Linked DNA regions of Homo sapiens: region 1 is linked to region 2. Evidence: promoter capture Hi-C in 16 types of primary human blood cells and fetal thymus (Javierre and others, 2016). All regions are on one chromosome and are shown on one strand. Each heading gives the region's core, a stretch centred on a gene start or on the middle of the fragment in contact. The rest is flanking DNA. Distances are from core to core; before and after follow the strand shown.

Evidence for each region. The method cuts DNA at HindIII sites, captures the fragments that hold promoters and counts their contacts. A CHiCAGO score of 5 or more calls a contact.
Region 1: a contact is called between a fragment that was not itself captured here and the fragment with the promoter of SMAD9 in region 2, in 1 of 17 cell types (M0 macrophages). The highest score is 5.5, in M0 macrophages.

The regions. Positions count from the first base shown.
Region 1 is chr13:36,277,578-36,283,617 of GRCh38, forward strand. CCDC169-SOHLH2 (CCDC169-SOHLH2 readthrough) reads right to left here. Exons shown (of 16, transcript NM_001198910.2): 2 at 6,015-6,040. The coding sequence starts at 6,029. It overlaps CCDC169 (coiled-coil domain containing 169), which reads right to left. Exons shown (of 8, transcript NM_001144981.3): 3 at 6,015-6,040; 4 at 5,892-5,932. Among named protein-coding and RNA genes, the nearest start is that of CCDC169, 17 kb to the right of the region's middle. The HindIII fragment of the contact is 1,493 bases long and covers 3,922-5,414 here.
Region 2 is chr13:36,917,459-36,924,393 of GRCh38, forward strand. SMAD9 (SMAD family member 9) reads right to left here and starts at 2,780. Exons shown (of 7, transcript NM_001127217.3): 1 at 2,658-2,780. It also overlaps the pseudogene LAMTOR3P1. RefSeq lists silencers at 2,691-2,760, 2,871-2,920. The HindIII fragment of the contact is 8,984 bases long and covers 158-6,935 here.

The DNA of each region.
Region 1 (6,040 bases), core at 3,418-5,917, 640 kb before region 2:
TCCCGTTTTGGTGAATGCACATGTTAGAGACTAGAAAATGTACACCCAACTAGCTCAAGGGAAGTAAAGGTTCTGCACTTTTTATTAAGAGGGTTAAATATCAGCTGGGTGAGGTGGCTCACGCCTGTAATGGGAGGCTGAGGCAGGCGGATCACCTGAGGTCAGGAGTTCAGCCTGGCCAACATGGCAAAACCCCATCTCCACTAAAAATACAAAAATTGGCTGAGCGTGGTGGCAGGCACCTGTAATCCCAGCTACTCGGGAGGCTGAGGCAGGAGAATCGCTTGAACCCGGGAAGCTGACGTTGCAGTGACCCGAGATCGTGCCATTGCACTCCAGCCTGGGCAACAGAGCAAGACTCCGTCTCAAAAAAAAAAAAAAAAAGATGTTAAATATCTAATGAATTCTATTATAGTTTTGAGAAGGTACCAAAAGATTCAGAAGATTCACAACTTATATAACAGCACAGCTTAATAAGTGAAAACAGATTGCACATCTTTGGGCCTTATGCTTATCCCTTCCAAGTTGATTGGGGTTAATTTCACAACAGACTTGTTTTAATAAAATAGTACTTTTCCTTTATCAAGGGAAAACAGAACAGGAACTAACAGAGCTTACTATGTCAGGCACTATGTTATTTGTTTTATCTATCTCTAATAATCTTCACAGTAACCCTGCATGAGAGTTTAATTAACTCAATTTCACAGATGAGGAAATTAAGCCTCAGAGAGATGAAATAACTTCCTCAGTGTCCCATAGTCTGAATTTGAGCCATGATGGTCTGATTCCAAAACCTACGTTTCGAGGGAAAATAGGTTATACTCAGTACATTTTCTCACCCCTACTCTTCCACTACACACCACATCACATTTTCTCCTATGTCCTAGCCTCTAATTGGCACTTCTTTCTTCGCTTTTGAATAATTTGCCTGAACTCTGGACAACGTGTTTTATCCTCTCCTACAGCAGAATTTTCTAGAACATTCTTTTCCTGAACATTCATAAAGCCTTCCCCTTCTTGACTTCTGTGATACCATTCTTCCAGTTGTCCCCCCATCCTTTCTCAATATTTTTCCTTCTCAATAATATTCCCTAAATTGCCTCCTAACACTTTAAATGTCAGCATTCCCCAGGGTTTCAACCTCAATTCTATTTTTCAGACTGCATATTTTTCCTGAGCAATCCCTTGTAGTTTCATGACTGCATGTGACACTTATGACTTGGTGATCTCTGTTTTCAGAGAAGCAACTTTCCATAATCCAAAACTATTTTCAGTTGCTTCCAAACCACTATCACCTGTGTAATACACACAAACAAAACTAAACTTACCATTTCCTAACATCCTAATTTCAATTTCTATTATCCTGTTCATTGTAATCCATGAAGTTATTCAAGCCAAAACTCTCAATTGTCATTAAATTCTCTTGCAGTCTTACCCAATATCTAAGTATTCATGAAATCCTCATTCCTAAATAGATCTTTAATCTGTCTCCTCTGCTCCATCCCCATATAATACTGCCCAAGCTAAAAAAAAACCCACCTTCCCTTACCTAGACTACGACAAAAGCATCCTAGCTGGTTTCTCTGATTCAATTCTAACCCACCCTGAGGAATCCTTTCTTCATGGTGGTTGGGGTGGGGGTGGGAGGATCTTTCAACCTCTATATAAAATATTTCAATAGCTTCTTATCATATACAAAAAAAATTCACACTCCCTACCATGAATACCAAACCCTTTATTATTTAGCCCCTGCATATTATTTCCAGCTTCATCGCTCATCATCCCTCTTATTTATTCCAGACATACTGAACTAACTGTAGAGCTGGGGTGTCTTTAGACAGACTGACCCAGAAATACTTTATAATAATTTGAAAATCTACCTATCTTATGATTTTAAAATTCCACTTCTAAGAACATGTATACTTGAAGCAGTGGTTCTCAAACTTTTTTATTAGAATTACCTGAAGAGTTAATAAAAATATAGAGGTGGCAAGTAGGTTGAAGGACAGGACTTGGCCTTTGTATTTTTATGAAGTGCCCTAGGTGATTCCATAACCTACCAAAGTTTATGGATCACTGCCTTAAAGCAGAGGCTGGCAAACTATAACCTAAAGATCAAATTCAGCTTCTGCCTGTTTTTGTAAACCAAGATTTTTTAGAATACAGCCCACCAATTAGGTGTTGTCTATGGCTCCCTTTATACTACAGCAGCAGGGTTGAATAGCTACAACAAAGATCAGAGATCATACAACTGCAATGCTGAAAATATTTACTATTTATCCATCTACAGAAAAGTTTGCTAAGCCTAGAGGAACACTTTGCACTGAAAGACACATATAAAGATATTCACTGTGGCAATGCTTGTCATAGTGAGATTTTGAAAAATTCATGATGTACGTAAATAGGCTAATTTACGTAATTCATGATGTACGTAAATATACTAAGGATATACACATATAATGAAATACTATACAACTGATAAAATTTACTAGATCTTTATTAACATGAATGGAATTAAATAATGAGTAAAAGAATGATATGCACAGTATGATACTTTTTATATGCATTTTTATACATACAACATGTAGAGAGATATTAAAAATAAACTGAAATAATATATACCAAATTCATGGTAGTCCTTGCCTATAAAAAGGAAACAAAAAGAAGACAGGGAGGAGAATAAAAGGGATCTCAACTCTATAAATTGTTTTCATTAAAACATTTAAAGTCAAAAAGGGACAAAGATCTGAAGATTTATAAATACTAGAATATGGAGTTGTTTGCCATAATACACTCTGTGGGTTTCAACTCAAAATTAAAACCAGAAACAACCTAAAATACCCAGTTATAGGGAAAAGTAATTGAACATTCACATTCCAACACAATGGAACATAATATATCATTGAAAAATGCACATGAAGAGAACATAACATATGAAATAATTGACTTAATTACCCCAATTAGCATAGGATTCAAAACTGTCCATGCGGTAAGGTTATAATTATATTTTAAACAACAATAAAAACTAGCTGTAATCCTTTTTCACTTTGTTTGTTGGCTGACTTATTTATTTGGTTGTTCTTTTTAATCAATATGTATGCATACAAAAATTACTAAAAACAGAACTGTCTACAGTGGATATGTTTGATTTTATGATATTCTTTTTCTATACCTTTTATTTTCCAAATAATATCAGCTGAATACATGTTGAACGAATATGTATGAATGAATTGAATGAATACATAAAATGAAATGCCTTCACTTTAAATGACTTTGTGTGTGGCAGATACAGCCAACTGTACGCTCACAATCCACTCTTCTCTTCTTCCTGTATATTCAGTAAAACACTATATTTCCTAGCCTGTCATGCACACGAAGGTGCCCATATGATACAGTTCTAACTCCCAATGAAATGTCAAGGGGAATTACTGGGTGCAGCATCTTAGAAAGCTCTTTGAAGGGGAGTAGACGTGACCGGCTTTCACCTTTACCATTTCTCCTTCACCTATGTCTTTTTTTGAATGATAACGTGAAGCAGCTGAGAAGGCGAAGCAGCCATCTTTAAACACGAGGACAAAAGCCACTCACAAATGGATGGCAGAGTAGAAACTTAGGGGAAGCCTGGATTCCTGAAGGCATTATACAGCCACTGCACCACCCCTGGACTGCAAACCTCATACTTTCTGTCACATGAGGAAAAAAAAGAAAAGAGAAAAAAAAAACTTTACTTGTTTAAACCTTTCTCTTACATTCTGCCAAATGCAACCCTTGATACATCATGCTAAAATAAAATTTTAATAAATTACCCCACTGAAAGACACTTAGAAGATAATATAACGTATCTTACCTTCAGAGGAGAAAAGTGAACCTCAAGAAAAAAAAAAGTTGGAGGCACCAACCTATTATCAGAACAAAGACTAAAGCTTCACTCTCACTTATGTGAATAATTTTTTCTAAAATATTAAAATCACACTGAACTTTACATTTCAAAATGGCTGAAACAGGCGGGGTGTGGTGACTTATACCTGTCATCCCAGCACTTTGGGAGGCGAGGCAGGTGGATTGCTTGAGCTCAGGAGTTCGAGACCAGCCTGGGACACACGGTGAAACCTCGTCTCTACTAAAAATACAATAATTAGCCAGGCATGGTGGCATGAGCCTGTAGTCCCAGCTATTCAGGAGGCTGAGGTGAGAGGACTGCTTGAGCTCAGCAGGCAAAGGCTGTAGTGAGCCAAGATTGAACCACTACACTCCAGCCTGGGTGACAGAGTGAGACCCTCCCTCAAAAAAAAAAGAAATGCTGAATGGTAAATTTTAAGTTATGTATATTTACCACAATAAAAGAGAGATAAAATTATATTAAAATGAAGTCCACTTTAATGATATAGTTTAAAGATAACATTTTATACATTTTTGTCAAATAACATATAAAATATTACACATATACTAGTCAACAACGAGTGCCCATCCTTTTGCTACTCATAAGCAAATCTGTAGTTTGAAATTATTCAAAATTAGTATTCAAACTAACACATCAATTTCATAAGTATGTCTGTACAGATTACTCCTAAACACTAAACAATCCACAACAAGGATAAAGAATCGGGAAATTTACAGATGGTATTTGAATTCATACTCTATCCCACAAAAGCAACTAATTTAAGCCCTTTTCCCTAATTGTCAATTTAACAGGAAGCCAAAAATATGTCTGCATTACACAATTATATGTCTGAATTTCACAAATATTATTCTTTATATCAAAGAATAAGACTTAGTTTTGTCCTTAGCTAAGAGGGTCTCTTGACTGGATATAGGATTGTTGGATCCCAATGCTTTTTGCTTAGTAATTGGACACTTCTATCGCTGACTCCTTGATTAGATTTCTAATCTCTGCTGCTCAGACACACCCCTCTTGGATTCATGAGTACCAAACACTCATGAAAGCACCTGTCCAGAGAATAGAGAGGACCAGTTCTGTTTATACTGAACTTTCATTCTCTTTCCTTTCTGCTTGGTCTGTGGTCCCACTCTTCGTTGTGCTAATATTTCTTCAGTCCTTTACTGTGGAGAAATATAATTCTCTGTCTCTGGATCTAAATTATTAAATCTCTTAGAGAACCACATTTTCTTCAAAAATAACACAAATACATCAAGGAAAATAAATGTATTTTTTCCAACATGAATATGTTCCAGAGTCTCAGGTAGTAGTTAGAAAACCAATTAAACGCTCCTTAGATATGCCCTAAGGTATTTTACTAAGTCATACCAGCACTTGTTGCTACTCTCCACAAGGGTGGTGATACCCACTCTGTTGAGCTAGGACTGAGCCTCAGTTATCAAGAAGCAGGTAGACAGAATATTTTATATCCAGTAGGTAGTAATAAAATTCTACCTGCAATTAAGAAAAGGCACTAAGCTTAACATAGCCCTAGCAACTATTTCTAAATGCCACAAGAGGGCGATATAACTCTATGACAGCACATGGGAAAACAATTTTTCGAGTTAGAAAAATTCCTGACTTTCCAAGATATGGAAATAAAGGCATGTCTGGGTTGAAAGTAACAAGCGTGCAAAAGGACTTATTTCTCCTCAATTCATTATTAGCAAAAACACAGTATTTGTCTATATCTTTCTCTGAAGGTTGGCGGTGATTCAAAAAGCAATATCTATACATGCTCTGCTCTTCAGGACACCTGTGAATATAGCTGGCAACTTAGTGCTCCACCTATAGCTACTCAAAAATTATTTGTTGTCCTTCAAACAGATCCCTTGAACAAAACAGTTTATTTGGACCTTGCGCTAGTCTTCAAACTTCTCTTTGAAATACGTCTGGAAAAAATAGACATAATTTCCTTCAATTATTCTTTGTGTTTAATCACATTTCTACTCACCACTGGCATTCGTTCATAGACACGAATAGAAGATAGTCTATCTACAATAAATCAAATATGAGCACTTAATGTTTTATCAGTTTTAACTCAAATTATAAAATGTACATATGATTGGTTTTGTACCTGAAGAGTTTCCATGGATTTTTTCC
Region 2 (6,935 bases), core at 1,530-4,029:
ATAAATCCAACAGCCTAGAATTACAACTATTTGAGAAGATTCATGGTTTCAACGTACTGCTATATTTACTGTTTCATTCTGGACAGTTTCCCGTTTCTTTAACTCCTCTCTAAGTGTCCAAAACAATATACAGAAAGTCTGCACTAAGCTTCGTTAAAGCTTTAAAATTTAGCATAGTATGTCTGGCAAATCAGAAAAACCACATATTTGTCATAACCTTTACCTTCCCTAAAATCAGAGTACATCCTGTGGATAAGGATTATTTCCCACATATTAAAGCAGAACATGATGAAACTGCTGTCCTATTTATTACAGAGGGAATGTCAGATATAAAGTAGTTACCTTAATCCTACGGTGCTCACTTACGAAACACCATCCCTCCAGTTTGGCAATGCATAGTGCACTCTCATTAATCAGAATTAAACTATTTGGAAAACATATTGAGTATTTTCATATTGACATTGAATATTTTCATCTTTATGAAACAATTTCTGGACAGACTTTTTTCCCTCCAACTGACCACATGATTAGTAAAGATAGTGTACCACTTGTTTATTACTTATGGATATCTTTAGTAATGTTTCATTTAAAAAACAAAACAAAACTCTTCTTTCTCATCCATGTCTTGGGCAATCACAGATGCAAGAGTTGACATCTGTGAATATTTTCTGATTACTTACTAACTAGGAATATATAAGTTAAAAAAATTTTTTAAAGGAGAAAAGCCAAATAGTTCATGTTGACTTTGAAAGACTGATGACAATGATGTGGCAATTCTAAAGTACTTAGAGGTTTAACCCAAAATTTGTTTACGTCTTTGATTTTTAGTAAACACTGCACTGATAAACATGAGTTTGTTCAGATCAAGAGTATGTTGGCATTCTCTTAAGCATAGTTTGAAACCAGAGAGCTCAAGCATAAAACAGCTCTGACAAAGATAACCAGTCAAGCATAAAAATGGGAGTTGGTTGTGTCAGAATACATTAAGAGGCCGAAGGCTGTCTGGCAGACAGCTGTCTTGCCATCACTGAAGGTGACTATTACCACTAAAAGTTGTTTTTCGGATACAGTACTTGAAATTGCTGTCATCTTGTATTTAAAATGCTCCTTATTTATAAAGCGTCACATCCTTTTCTTATCTGAAGCCTCCTTCTTGGATAACCACAAACCTAAAAGCAGTCTAAAATTGTGCTGATGCTTTCCTACAAGCACAGGGAAACTCTTATATTGAATCTTTGTCTATTTGGAGTTGAGAATGTCTTTGGCTTTTATTTTAAATGCCTTCTTAAATATAGATCACTATTTTTAAAATGTAAACATCCAAAGGCATTCCCTCACACTTGGAGGAATGCTAAGGCAGGAGACATGCTTGTAGTAGTCACATTTCACTTTCCCAGACGGGTGCCACAAACGTTCCGCTCAGTTACTGCTTAGGAGGCAGCATTATTAAATGCCTCACGACTTAACGGTCAGCCTCCATGCTTCTTGCTAACCTACATTTCCAAAAGATCATCCGAGAAATCTGGCAAGCCACCGAAATGGTACTAGTAAACTGGATCCATCCAAAGCACTCCACAGTGCCCTGTGGGTGTGTTTCTCACTGTAAACTACTGGGTAAAGAATTTACATACAATTTTATCTCCAAACTCGATTTGTATCCTTTGTAGGTTAGTTCTCAGGAGTACCCACTCCAGCCCAGAAATAAGTCAACGTAGTATTTCCAAACTATCACTTCAAATGTCCACGGTCAAGGGCAGGAGGAGGAAGGAATAGTAACGGGAAAACTTGTCAGCGATTAGCCATCCATAAAAATGTTCTCCCAGCGCTCCTCCTTCCGATCACAAAGCTGGCGTCAGGCAGTCTCCTGTATCTGCTTCCCACCTCGCCCCCTCCCCTCTGCGGAGAGCTGGCACCGAGGGGCGGGCCAAGGAAAAGACAAACACCCCGGCTCCGACACAGTCCAAGCGCGAGCCCGGAGACACTTCAACAACATTCCTAACTTTTTTTCTCAGTTCGCATGCCTCAAAGGTAAACAAAGCAAAAAGCCTACGAAACAGAAGGCAAGTGAGGCCAATTCGGCGCTGGCGAGTTTAAAAGTGGCCCCCAAAGAGTCACAATGACGACCCCCGCCGCCCCCTCTGTCCGCTGTCCCCTATCTCCAGCTACAGCAAGCGACCCCTCAGGCGCCTATCCTGGTCCCTGCCCACGCCCCGGGCCCCAGCCCCGACCCGACCGCCGCCCCCGCCGCGGGTCGAACATCCCCTGACAGGTCCCGGGGCCCGCGGCGCGGGCGGATGCAGGCGCGAGGAAGGCGAGCTGCGCCGCGGCCAACTCCCCAGAGCAGTCCCCTCCGGCCCCGCGCCCACCCCACCCCACCCCACTCCACCCCAGACAGGCTCCACCAAAAAACCCGGGAACAACGACCGCCAAAAGCCAAGCCTCACGCCGAGGAGCCTCCCAGGCTGCCCCGAGGACGAACAACTTCGCCCTCCACTCAATGCGCTCACACGCACGCACACAAGCAGCGCGCGGCCGAGGAGGGCACGTCTTACCTGTCCCCGCCGTGCCACTCATCCCTCCCCCACCCAGGTCCGGCGCCCCCAACCCCGCCCCCGCCGTGGTCCCCCGGCCGCCCGCTCCGAGCGCCGCGCACTCACTGCCTGGCTGCGCGCGCCCAGCGCCTGCAGGGCCCGGCGGCGGCGGCGGGGACCGAGACAGCGGCTGCAGCAGCGGCGGCGGCGGCGGCGGCGGCGGCGGCCCCAGCCGGCGTCAGTCAGACTGGAGCCGCGAAGCCTCATCGCCCGTATTAGTGCGCCGACCTGGAAAGCGGCCAGGGAGCCCTGCTTGCGGCCCGCCCCCGCCCGCCGCCGCGCGCTCTGGCCGCTCCGGGAGCCGCAGAGGAGGGGGCTGCGCGGGCCCGGCGGGGGGCGGGAGCGAGACCGGCCCCACGGCCACGTGCGCGGAAACTCGCGGCGCGGGGGTGGCGGGGTAGTACTCCTCGCAGCGGCCTGCGGCTCGGTTCCCGCCTCTTCCCCACCCCCAGCCCCGCGCTGCCCTCTCGGTCCCCCTGCGCGACCCCAGGCTCGGCCCCTGCCCGGCCTGCCGGGGTGGCCCGGGGGTGGGGTGGGAGCCCTTTGTCTGCGTGGGTCGCCTCGCGTCTCTCTCTCCCACCCCACCTCTGAGATTTCTTGCCAGCACCTGGAGCCCGAAACCAGAAGAGTTGTCAGCCCAACAAGAATATAGGATCACCGGCCCATCAGTCTGGAGACCCTTCTGAGCTGCTGTTCCTCACATGTTTCTGGGCCCTGATAGTGACTCTCACTTGCCCTGTTTGTTCCTGATTTGCTTTTCGGAGTAAGGGGATCCTGTCCCCATGGACAGTGACAGAGCAACTGGGCCGCAATGGCATAGGCAGAAGAAAATCTAATCACTCTGGGGGTGAGTGGTGGTTAAAACGACTCATGTAATTATGTGGATTGTAATTTCCTTACACATATTTATTTGCTTAACAACCCAGCATGTGAGATATATTATCTAATCTAATAAAAGATACAAACTTATGGGCACACAGCAATGTTACTGTACAACTTTCTCGTCTCACGGCCTGGCTGTCCCCCAGGTAGCCTGCCTCTTAAAGTCACTGTGGACTCCTGGAACCCACTCAGAAACGCCACTTAGGAAGAACCACCTCTGATTCCCCATCAGCCCGTAGTTCCTCACAGAAAAGGCATTTGCTGCAGGGGTGAACGTGGAATAAAGCCACAGGGCAGTTTTCAGCTTGCTCCTGTGTGCAGGAAAGTCATACCTCCAGTTGGCCCCGATGGCGGCTCCGAAATGTAAAGCAAGGCCTTAAATTTAACTGCTTTTTCTAGTTCTCAAAGCACTGCACTTTCTTCATGGCAGATGCTATTTTTGCATTATTATACCGTTGTAGTTGAACGGTGATTTGTTTAAAACAACATTTGCAGCAGAACCTTAAATACCATGCCTTAACCTCAAAGTCTTCTTTCTACACTGGCCCAGATACCTCTGCACCCGGCTATGTGTTGGGTTTGAGATTGTCCTGGGTGAGAAACACCAGGAAACAGCGGGACCGGTAAGGGCTACAGATTATATATTAAGGATTAGGCTGGATGTGGACTTTATTGCCAGTAAACTAATTAGGTCCTCAGAATTGATACCTTGTGGCTCAAGTTTTTAAAAATTAAATTAAGAAAAGAAATGGCCCAATCACTATCTCAGTTTCCTTCTCGTATATGAGCATAATGCAGAGGACAAGATGCAGAGAAAGAAATTATAACCTCTGCAGCGCTGGCTCATGCTTCTGGCATGGAGTCTTTCTCAGTTCGCAGAATTCTCTTGACTCTTGGCAGGCCTTTGATTTAGAGTATGTCTAGTCTGCTCTTTTCTGTACGTTCTCATTTACATACCAGGATATTTCTGCACGATGATGACTTTTTCCTGCCTAAACATTAGTCTGTCACTGATATAATTCCTATCATGTATTCCTCAAGGCTAGTATAGAAAGTTAATCCATTACGCTCAAGAACAATAAGATCTGGTGAGTTCCAAGAAGGAGAAAATGCTTGGCCTAAGACAGAAGGCGCAGTGTTGACACTCCATTTTACAGAAGCTGACTGTCCTGGTTAATGGAAAGCTAGACTTCGCTTTATCTTTCCCAGTGATTTCTTGATTGGCTGTGGTTTTACTGCTTAATAGAACTTCCACCAAAACATTCTGTTATGGGAATCATATGAAAGGAGAGACTCAGAGGTTGTGATTTGGTAGAACCGCCAGTGAAATTTTGGTTCAGGACCTCAAAACCACGGCAAAACTGAAATCTGTTTTCTGAAAGATGATAAGGTCTTGGCCTAACACGAACTCCCTCAGGCTATAAAACAGTGGTAGGAAGGGCAGCTTCCTTACCCCAAGAGAGAGCCAATTCTTTGCATTTGCCATATACCCAGCATAAAACCAGACTGTGGTCTTTGAAGCTGTTCCTGAAGTGACAGTGGAGAGAACCGGGCAGCCCAGAAACCCCAGGCAAGGAGATTGATCCTGCAAGAGAAGGGGGTTCATCATGGCGGATGACCTAAAGCGATTCATGTATCAAATGTTACAAAGTGTTGAAGGGCTCCATGCTATTGTTGTGTCAGAGTTGGAGTACCTGTTATTAAAGTGGCCATTGATAATGCTCCAGAGCATGCTTTGAGACCTGGTTTCTTACCTACTTTTGCCCTTGCAACAGACCACGGGAGCAAACTTGGACTTTCAAAAAATAAAAGTATCATCTGTTACTGTTACACCTACCTGGTGATTCAGTTAAATCATTTACCTTTGGTGGTGAGTTTCATAGCCAGCAGCAATGCCAATACAGAACTAATTGTCAGCCTAGAAAAGAAACTTACTCCATTATTTGAAGAATTGAGACAAGTTGTGGAAGTTTCTTAATCAGACAGTGGTTTCAATGTGTACCTTATCTTTATTATAACAACACAATATCGATCCAGCAATCTTTAGACCATAATACTTTTATCCATGTCCTCAAGAAAGGGCCTCTTTTTCCAACTTATACTGAAGAGCAAGCATATAGATAAAATTTATGGACGGATTGATTGTTATATTTTCTGGTGTAGGGTCTTTTCTTATTTAGTGAGATCTGGGGATACCACAAAAATAGTTCAGTCTGTCACAGCACCCATGGAGTTAGTCCAGCCACCAAATATGGATGAGATTCTATTCCGTGGATCAGAATCAAACTGGTACATTGATCCATTTGAGCCATTAAGTGCTCTCTATTGTACAATCTGCCCAGGCCTGCAGAATGAAGCAGATTTTTTATTGCGAATAATAATGAGATATTTTTCTTCAGATTATGTTTTATTTCTTCTCATTGAGTGTGAGGAACATAAAATGGCTTAGTAAAAGCAATAAAATCAGTACAGTCACTAGCTTTCCTTTGTACTTATTACTTTATGATATAGATGAATATTACTGATTGGTTTGATTCTTCTCAGAGGGTGCTGCTCTTTAATGAAAATAAAAATTATAGCTAATGGTTTTTCCTCAAACTCTGCTTTCTATAACTAATCAGTGTTTTAATGTTTGTGTGTTCTTTATAAAATTTAAATGTAATTGGTTACTGAATTCTGTTTCCAATATTAGTATTATGTAAACATGATAGTATAACCATTTTTTCATGTGAGTATACATAAAATAGTATTAAAAAATAAAAAAATAACAGATTGTAACAAAGTCTGTAGTCATCCATGGATGCAAAGATTCTGCTTTGTACGTCTCTTGTACCTTAAGTTTGAGCTAGCATGATAATGGTTCCACTCAGAGTAATAACTAGGAATCATAGCCTCCACACTCCTCCCACCTCAAGTCTCCTTTCTAAATTTTATCTGTAACTCTGTCCTGATGCTGCAGTTTTTCTGCCTCCCATTCGGACTTTCCTTGAAAGTCATCTTTCATTCCATAATCACTATTGAATGCTTTCCTAAGTACCAGGCACCCGAATTAACTATATGAACACAGAGCACTGGCCCTTAGTAAAGGCAGCCTAAGAGAGAGATACATCTACCAACGATTATCACACAACTTTGTGTGTCACCGTAGGGGAGTGGGCACAGGGAGGTGTCAGGGAGGTCTTCACAGGGTCGAAATTTTAGCTCCAACTTGAGAGCATGAACACTTACTGTCCTGCACCCCCCTGGGCCTCCACCCTGCCTGAGTGGGTGCAGCCCTGCAGGTGTCAGCCTCACAGCAGAGTGCAGGCTGCACTTCAGCCCACTTGCCACCCTGGCCTGACACTCTAATGCAGGCCCAACTTGTTCAATCATGAAGGCAGAATGCCTACTATGTGCAGAATTCCCTGAGGCTTTGAGTAGAAAAGCCTCAGTTTTCCTAAGAGAATTGTCAAACTAGTTGGA